2 separate regions of the Homo sapiens genome follow, and region 1 is linked to region 2. Evidence: promoter capture Hi-C in 16 types of primary human blood cells and fetal thymus (Javierre and others, 2016). All regions are on one chromosome and are shown on one strand. The core of a region is centred on a gene start or on the middle of the fragment in contact, and the rest is flanking DNA. Distances in the headings are between cores, read along the strand shown.

Region 1 (4,513 bases), core at 1,135-3,634, 82 kb after region 2:
TTCCATCTGAGACCTCATCAGAATGGCCTTTAACATCCATACTTCTACTAGCCTTCTGGTACAACCTCTTAGGTAATCTCTAAGAAAACTGAGGCTTTCTCTGTAGCTCTCCTCTTCTTCTGAGCCCTCACCAGAATCACCCTTCACAATCTATTTACAACAATACAGGCTTATTTTGTGTGTGAGACAGAGCCTCATTCTGTCACCCAGGCTGAGAGTGTAGTGGCTCGATCTCAGCTCACTGCAACCTCCGCCTCCCAGGTTCAAGCGATTATCTTGCCTCAGCCTCCCAAGTAGCTGGGATTACAGGTGCCCACCACCACACCTGGCTAATCGTTGTATTTTAGTAGAGATGGGGTTTCACTATGTTGGCCAGCCTGGTCTTGAGCTCCTGACCTCAAGCAATCCACCTGCCCTGGCCTCCCAAAGTGCTGAGATTACAGGCATGAGCCACCGCGCCCAGCCAATTTTGACTCTTTAAAGAGATTCAAATAATCTCTTAAGTCAGTAGTCCAAAAGGCTACGACCAACAATTTTGGTTTATCTTCCCGTTGAAAGGATCCTCCATACAGAACTCCACATCCAAACCTATTCATGCTGTATCAACAACTTTAGAACCCAGTAACTCCAGGAGTCTGGTTATTATGACAAATGAATACAGTGGACCATCTCTTCTGCCGAGGCGACAGTTCCCTCATTTAACCCCACTAATAGCTAGATAATCCCCTAAAGACAGATTTAAAAAAAAATTTCTTGCCGGGCGCCATGGCTCACGCCTGTAATCCCAGTACTTTGGGAGGCTGAGGCGGATCATAAGGTCAGGAGATCGAAACCATCCTGGCCAAGATGATGAAACCCCGTCTCTACTAAAAATACAAAAATTAGCTGGCGTGGTTGTGCGCACCTGTAGTCCCAGCTACTCGGGAGGCTGAGGCAGGAGAATCGCTTGAACCTGGGAGATGGATGTTGCAGTGAGCTGAGATTGTGCCACTGCACTCTGGCCTGGCGAAAGAGCAAGACTGTATCTCAAAAACAAACAAACACAATTTCCATTTGTTTTTGTGATGTATGTTGCATCATAGTACTATTTCTGCGTGAACATGTCTCCTGAATTGGAGTTTGCTTCTGTTTATAACCTATTCCATCTGCTTTCCCTGAGTGCACATGTGTGTGCTCTGCCATGGCTAAGCGGCAGAATGGAATCTCACTTAAATTAACAGTTGATTGCCAAACACCCTCCAGCATAAATAGGTAACCGTTGACTGTGGTCGCATTTCATTTTACTGGAGCAGAGTGTACATACAACTATGTGCCAAACTACTGTCAGAAACAGCCAATTAATATCGCTGCACCCTTCCCCTTCAACTGTAAAACTCAACCTCTCATATTGACCAACGTATTTCTTTTTTTCTAGCTGGGATTATAGGCTCCCACCACCACGTCCGGCTAATTTTTGTATTTTTAGTAGAGATCGGGTTTCGCCATATTGGTCAGGCTGGTCTCGAACTCCTGACCTCAGGTGATCCACCTGTCTCGGCCTCACAAAGTGTTAGGATTACAGGCATGAGCCACTGCGCCCAGCCTGATCAACATATTCCATTGCCAAAATTTAATGCCATTAAAGTTTTAGATCAGCTACACTTGAACAATTAAATATTCTATGAATAATTTTAAAAAGCCCTAAACTGGTAAAAATAAACTCTCATTTACAAAGTGAACTATAAACTAACAGCCTTTAAGTTGTTTTAACACTAGATCCCTCTGTATTTTTTTTTTTTTTTTTACAAATTAGGTGTTAGTGGAACATGGTTTTAACAAAAATTGCAGAAGGTAGTATTTAAGAATAACGAAATTCCCCTGATGTTAAAAAAGGTTTATTTGCATAACTTGTACACTTTTATCCCCAATGAGCCCCCAAACAAAAATAAATTTTCCGATACATGTAATGTTGATACTGTACAAAGCCATTCTCAGTGACCAAGAAAAACTTCCTCTGAGAACATTTAAGATAAATGTGACCCTGCTTTTCACAGTATTGTTTAGAAAAGAAAATGAACATTTCATACAGCAACTCACTGTTGTATTGTATCACTAGTCTACTTTATTTTTTTTTCTTTTACTAGTCTAATAATTTCACAATTCTTTACAATTTGAGATTTGGGAAAAACAACGACAAAAACATCAAGGATATGTACTTTTTTTTTTTTTTTTTTGAGACAAGGTCTTACTCTGTCACCCAGGCTGGAGTGCAGCGGCACAATCTCAGCTAACTGCAACCTCTGCCTCCCAGGCTGAAGCCATCCTCCCACCTCAGCTTCCCAAGTAACTGGGACCACAGGCATGCACCACCATGCCTGGCTAATTTTTTTTTCCCCTAAGTTAGTAAAGGCTTCTAACTAACTTTTAAAATTATTTTCTGTAGAGATGGGGTTTTGCCATGTTGCCCAGGCTGGCCTCAAATTCCTGGGCTCAAGTGATTTGTCCTCCTCAGCCAGTTTTTTTGTTTGTTTGTTTGGTTGGTTTTTTTCTTTCTTTTTTTTTTTTTGAGACAGAGTCTTGCTCTGTCGCTCAGGCTGGAGTGCAGTGGCGCGATCTTGGCTCACTGCAACCTCTGCCTCCTGGGTTCAAGTGAGTCTCCTGCCTCAGCCTCCTGAGTAGCTGGGACTACAGGCGTGCACCACCATGCCCAGCTAATTTTTGTATTTTTAGTAGAGATGGGGTTTCACCATATTGGTTAGTCTGGTCTTGAACTCCTGACCTTGTGATCCACCCACTGAGGCCTCCCAAAGTGCTGGGATTACAGGCGTGAGCCACCGTACCCGGCCTGGTATTTTTGGGGTTTTTTTTGTTTGTTTTTTGTTTTTTAAGATTAGCTTTTGACCAGTTGAGGTGGTTCACGCCTGTAATCCCAGCACTTTGAGAGGCCGGATGGCTTGAGGTCAGGAGTTTGAGACCAGCCTGGCCAACATGATGAAACCCCATCTCTACTAAATATATAAAAAAAATAGTCAGGTGTGGTGGTGCGTGCCTATAATCCCAGCTACTCAGGAGGCTGAGACAGGAGAATTGCTTGAACCTGGCAGGTGGAAGGTGCAGTGAGCCAAGATTGCACCACTGCACTCCAGCCTGGGAGATGGACTGAGACTCCTTCTTAAGAAAAAAAAAAAAAAAAAAAAAAAAAAAAAGGCCAGGCGCAGTGGCTCACACCTATAATCCCAGCACTTTGGGAGGTTGAGGTGGGTGGATCACGAGGTCAGGAGTTTGAAACCAGCCTGGCCAACATGGTGAAACCCTGTCTCTACTAAAATACAAAAAATTAGCTGGGCGTGGGAGTGCGCGCCTATAATCCCAGCTTCTCGGGAAGCTGAGGCAGGGGAATCACTTGAATCCAGGAGGCGGAGGTTGCAGTGAGCCAAGATCGCGACACTGCACTCCAGCCTGGCAACAGAGCAAGACACCATCTCAAAATAAATTTAAAAAAAATAATAAATTAGCTTCAGCCACTTTGGAGAGCAATTTGGCAACACCTAGTAAAACTGAAATTGTGGACACTGTAAAACACAGCAACTCCACTTCGGGATAGATACCATAGAACAGCAGTCCCCAACCTTTTTGGCACTAGGGACGGGTTGGGAGGAAAGGGGGGAATGGTTTTGGTATGAAACTGCTCCACTTCAGATCATCAGCCATTACATTCTCGTAAAAGGCGTGCAACCCAGAGTCCTCATGTGTGCAGTTCACAATAAGGTTCGTGCTCCTATGAGAATGTAATACCGCCCCTGATCTAACAGGAGGCAGAGCTCAGGAAGTAATGCTCGCTTGCCCTCCACTTACTTCCTGCTGTGCAGCCTGGTTCCTAACAGGCCACAGACTGTACTGGTCCAGGCCCGGGCAATGGGGACCCTTGCCCTAGAACAGTGAGTCTCAAACCACTTGGTACCAGGTCTCCATTGCACTTAAAAATGATGGAGGGAGCCAGGCTCAGTGGTGAGAGCTTGTAGATCCACCTACTTAGGAGGTTGAGGTGGGTGGACTGCTTGAGCCCAGGAGTTAGAGGCCAGCCTGGGCAACATAGCAAGACTCAATCTCTACAAAAACTAAAAATAAAAACGTTAGCCAGGCATAGTGGTGAGCACCTGTAGTCCCAGCTACTTGGGAGGCAGAGGCGGGAGGATCACTTGAGCCCACGAGTTTGAGGCTGCAGTGAGCTATGGTGCCACTGCACTCCAGCCTGGGCAACAGAGTGAGACCCTCTCTCCAAAAAATAATAAAATAACTATATTTTCCCAAACAAAAAAATTAGTGAGAAAAGTGTCACTGTGTATGTTACATTTTTTTTTTCAAATCTCATATCTGGCTTAATAGAAAACATCTGAATTCTCCTATCTGCTTCTGCCATCAATTTGTTGCAATGTCGTATGTCATGTAGCCTCATGGAAAGGTCCATTGAACATTCGTGAGAAGAGTGAGCATGAAAAAGGCCAAATAACATCTTAATATTATTATGAAAATT
Region 2 (4,666 bases), core at 838-3,337:
TACATTAATTTAAAATAAAAATTGCAATCTATGCAAACTAAATCTCATCCTAGAGTCACAAGATTTGAGAAATAGGAAAGAAACCTGAACTAAAATACCAAGAATACAAGATTTCCTAAAGCTAGTTTTCCCTAGCCTCGTTCAAGTGCTTAGTCACTTCTGCCTATTTACAAGGAAGACCATTTCATATCTTCAAAGAGGCAGGGAATTTTGATTCCAGACGGTCATGTCACCTGAGCTGCCCTAGACGTTTCTTTCCATGCAACTCAAGAGAAGGCAGCAGCCAGCTATGCATACCTACCACTCCTGTTCAGAACCACAAGCTCTCTGTATCTTGCCTCTGTGTGCAGTAACAAAGTGGGATTGTGGAAGAACAAAGTTTTCTTGCCTGACACCAAATGCAAAAGGTGATCATTAAAATGCAGCCTGAAGACATCCCAGTTTCCTCTCTCTGACAGCCCACCAAAAATGCTTCCCTTCCCTTCTCCTGGAACAGAAACAGCAAAGCAGGTTCTTATAAAAGTCTAAATGCTTACTGGACATCTCCCCTTAGGCAAGCAACAACACCCAAAACTACAGGCTAACAGGCTCTGAAGCACATTTCCCAGAGAGCAGCCAGAACCTTAAAATCTGATAACATGGTTTCAAGTTCCCCAAAGGCAAAAATAAAAAGTAAGGGTTTCACGAAAGGTTATTTTGAGACAACCCCAAGGAAAGCCAAGTTTTAAAGTACCTACTCCGTACCAAGCCCCTTTTCCCAACATTCTACTCTACTCACACTTAAAGATGCTAAGCACACACGCTGATTATAGAAATACACCAGAAAGTACTTTCACAACTAGATACAGTGGGACCTTGGAAAAGCCCAAGCACACTATTTCCAAACATCTATTCTAGGTGGTAAAACCTGGAACCATGTAGTCAATCTGTGAAGCACAGCTTAGTCCAATTTCCCAGAAGGTCACGAAGGGCTCTGACAACCAACTTTGATTATTTAGGATGGGGCCCTTTTTTCCTTCCAAGAATATAAATGACACATTTCTTCGACTTCACTTTTTTTTTTTTAGTTCCACAAGCAAATATCTTCAAGTAGTGCAAGTAGGCCTCAGCATTCTCAAACACTATTCTCATTATTCCTAATACCTCCATAATACTATTATTGTATATACACATTCGTGTTGCTATTTTTATAGATAAAATATAAAGGCATGAATTAACCTCTTGGTTAATTCGTGGGTGAGAATACTGAGGCTCAACGAGGCTAAGAAATGAGCCCAGAGCTTGCTGGTTAAGAATACAGGTCCTCTAGACTCCCAGGCCCCAACACTTAACCATTAAGCCACACTGCCATTCAGGGAATGCTACTAAATCCAGTTACTGTACACAACTACTTTCAGGTCACATAACTGGGTGCAAAGAGTTCTATAGCAAGGATTGGGGCGGCAGGGAGGGTACACTACCTAAGCTAAGATTTTTTTTCTTTAACGAATATAGCACATGTTCCCGATTTCCATCCTCCCCCACGGGCAGAACCCACGTGCCGGTCCCCCGCTACCCAGAACCGCTCCCTCCCCACACTACCCCACGCTACCCAGCAGCCTCCCCACGCCCTTCCCTCTGCCCTCCCGCAAGCGCTGCACCCGCGCCTCCCGCCCCCTCCCCAGCGACGGCAGCCGGGGCGCCCGCGCCGCCCTCGCGCGCCGCAGCCCGCGCGCCCCCGCCTCCGCCCGGCGGGGTCACCCCCGGGGCCTGCGCGCGCCCTTGCCGCCGCCTGCCCGCCCCGAAATCCTCCCGCGACGCCGACGCCGGGCAGGCCGCGCCCGCCGCGCCTGCCATGGTGGGCGCCTCACCGTCAGGCTGGGAAGCCGGGCCCGGCTGCGCCATGACCAGGCGGCCGGCCTCGGGGAGCGGGGATGGGCGGGGAAGCGGCGTCCTGGGCTCCCGCGGGCTCAGCTGGCGGAGGAGGCGTCAACCGAGCCGCCGCCGCCGCCGCCCAGAGAGAAACCGCTAAGGCTGGATCCGCCGGCGCCGCCACAGCCGCGGGCAGAGACGGACCCGACCGCCGACCTCCGCCTCCTCATCCTGACAGCGGGAAATAAGCAGTGCGCAGGCGCAGGGGGATGGGGCGGCACGTGACGTTGGCCCGAGGGGAGGGGCGGGGCCTCGGGAGCGCGGAGGGAGCGCGGAGGGAGCGCGGAGGGAGCGCGGAGGGAGCGCGGAGGGAGCGCGGAGGGAGCGCGGAGGGAGCGCGGAGGGAGCGCGGAGGGAGCGCGGCGGGAGGGGAGGGTTTCGGCGGAGCTGGGCGCCTGACCCAGCGGCGCGGGGAGGCTGAGTGCCGAGCGGAGCTGGAGAAGAGGGGCTGCAGCAGAGGCCTGGCCTCTCGAAGGTGCCGGTCCCGGTTCTCCACCCCAGCACAGTGAGGGGAAAAAAAAAAATGAGTAAGAGAGGAGGACCGATGGCGGGGTGCAGTTCCAGCCTCTACCTCTTCTAGCTTTGCGACCTTGGGAGAGTCACTTCACCTCTTGGAATTTTTATCAATATAATGGCTAAGAAAAGTTTAAACGAGGTAATAAAGTATGAAGAACTGTTTCCGACAGTACTGGGCCTGGACCCCAGGTCTTCTGGTGCAGAGGCCAGTATACTATCCATTCAGCAAATACGTTTGGGTTTTCAGTCGTGATAGATGCTGGAGATACAGCCAGGTACAGACCCTGCACTCATGGCAGGAAAGGAGAAATCATATACACAAAGTGTGGCCCTTATACTTGGGCCCCTGGGCCCTATACTTTAGGAACTCCCCTCTAATCACCACTCCCCGTCTGATTTCGACACCTGGAGTGCCCCATGCCAAGGAGGTAGTTTAAAAAGCTTTTTTTTTTTTTTTGGAGATAGAGTCTCACTCTGACACCCAGGCTGGAGTGCCATGGTGCGATCTCGGCTCACTGCAACCTCTGCCTCCCGGGTTCAAGCAATTCTCCTGCCTCAGCCTCCCGACTAGCTGGGACAACAGGCGCACGCCACCACACCCGGCTAATTTTTGTATTTTTAGTAGAGACGGGGTTTCACTATGTTGGTCAGGCTGGTCTCAAACCCTTGACCTCGTGATCCGCCTGCCTCAGCCTCCCAAAGTGCTGGGATTACAGGCGTGAGCCACCGCGCCCGGCCTAAAAAGCTATTTTGAAATCAGAGAGGAGCATCAGGAATTATGTACATTTTAAGACCCAGCAATCCCACCCCAGGATGAGGGAGTCCACAGGGTTTGGCACTTCAGGACCAAGTTCTGAATACTTGTGGCCCCAGAATTCCCTTTCCAGATGGCTGAAGCTGTGGTCTCTTTCCCAGATCCATTCTCTCTATGGCAGAGTCTAGACATCCCTAAAAGAAGCTAAAGTGAAAGCATAAAGAATGAGTTCATGTCCTTTGCAGGGACATGCATGAAGCTGGAAACCATCATTCTCAGCAAACTAACACAGGAAAAGAAAACCAAACACCTCATGTTCTCACTCATAAGTGGGAATTGAATAATGAGAACACATGGACACAGGGAGGGGAACATCACACACCGGGGCCTGTGGGGGGTGGGGGGAAGGGGAGGGAGAGCATTAGGACAAATACCTAATGCATGCGGGGCTTAAAACCTAGATGACGGGTTGATAGATGCAGCAAACCACCATGGCACATGTATACCTATGTAACAAACCTGCACGTTTAGCACATGTATCCAAGAATTTAAAGTATAATAAAAAAATAATAATAGGCCGGGCACAGTGGCTCACGCCTGTAATCCCAGCACTTTGGGAGACTGAGGCAGGTGGATCACGAGGTCAGGAGTTCAAGATCAGCCTCTCCAAGATGGTGAAACCCCATCTCTACTAAAAATACAAAAAATTAGTCGGGTGTGGTGGCAGGCGCCTGTACTCCCAGCTACTCGGGAGGCTGAGGCAGAGAATTGCTTGAACCCAGAAGGCGGAGGTTGCAGTGAGCCAAGATCGCACCACTGCCAGCCTGGGCGACAGATCGAGACTCCATCTCAAATAATAATAATAATAATCAGAAAATCCACTAATTAGAATCAGTTTCTACTTTCTTTAAATCATTTGTTTTAAATAAGGTATACTTTTATTAAAATGATTATTTCTCACTGAAAAAAAGGGAGGCTAAAGGGCAGCTTTGTTTTATTTTAAGGGGGTGACACGACACTTGGGTGTTTGAGCTCCTATGTCCACAGATCCCTCATGGTGCAGGACAGAGGTGAGAAAAGAAGGCAAGTGAGCCAAGAGACAATAGTTGGGCCAGGGCCTGTGCTGCTTTCGCCACCTCATTCATGGGCATAACTCCCAGGAGCCCAGGAATTCTAAATTTAAACCTGGTCTTCCAGGTCTTAAACAGGTAGATTTGTCCAAGTAGAAGGATAGACTGTATTAAGGTTAGCGGTTAATTGGAGTAGTTTGTAATTTTATTTTATTTTATTATTTATTTAATTTTTGGAGACGGAGTCTCTCACTCTATTGCCCAGGCTGGAGGGCAGTGGCACCATCTCAGCTCACTGCAACCTCCACCTCCCGGATTCCAGTGATTCTCCTGCCTCAGCCTCCTGAGTAGCTAGGATTATAGGCGTGTGTCACCACGCCCAGTTAACTCTTGTAATTTTAGTAGAGACAGGGTT

Evidence for each region. Contacts are between HindIII fragments. The CHiCAGO score rates a contact against its expected background, and 5 or more counts as called.
Region 1: a fragment that was not itself captured here is called in contact with the fragment with the promoter of RABEP1 in region 2 in 2 of 17 cell types (total B cells and naive B cells); the score reaches 8.5 in total B cells.

Annotation. Positions count from the first base shown.
Region 1 is chr17:5,197,970-5,202,482 of GRCh38, reverse strand. The region is part of intron 1 of ZNF594-DT (ZNF594 divergent transcript); the gene reads right to left. Among named protein-coding and RNA genes, the nearest start is that of ZNF594-DT, 8.2 kb to the right of the region's middle. The HindIII fragment of the contact is 5,101 bases long and covers 1-4,513 here.
Region 2 is chr17:5,279,705-5,284,370 of GRCh38, reverse strand. RABEP1 (rabaptin, RAB GTPase binding effector protein 1) reads right to left here and starts at 2,087. Exons shown (of 18, transcript NM_004703.6): 1 at 1,851-2,087. The coding sequence starts at 1,884. RefSeq lists a silencer at 1,648-2,367. The HindIII fragment of the contact is 5,707 bases long and covers 1-2,870 here.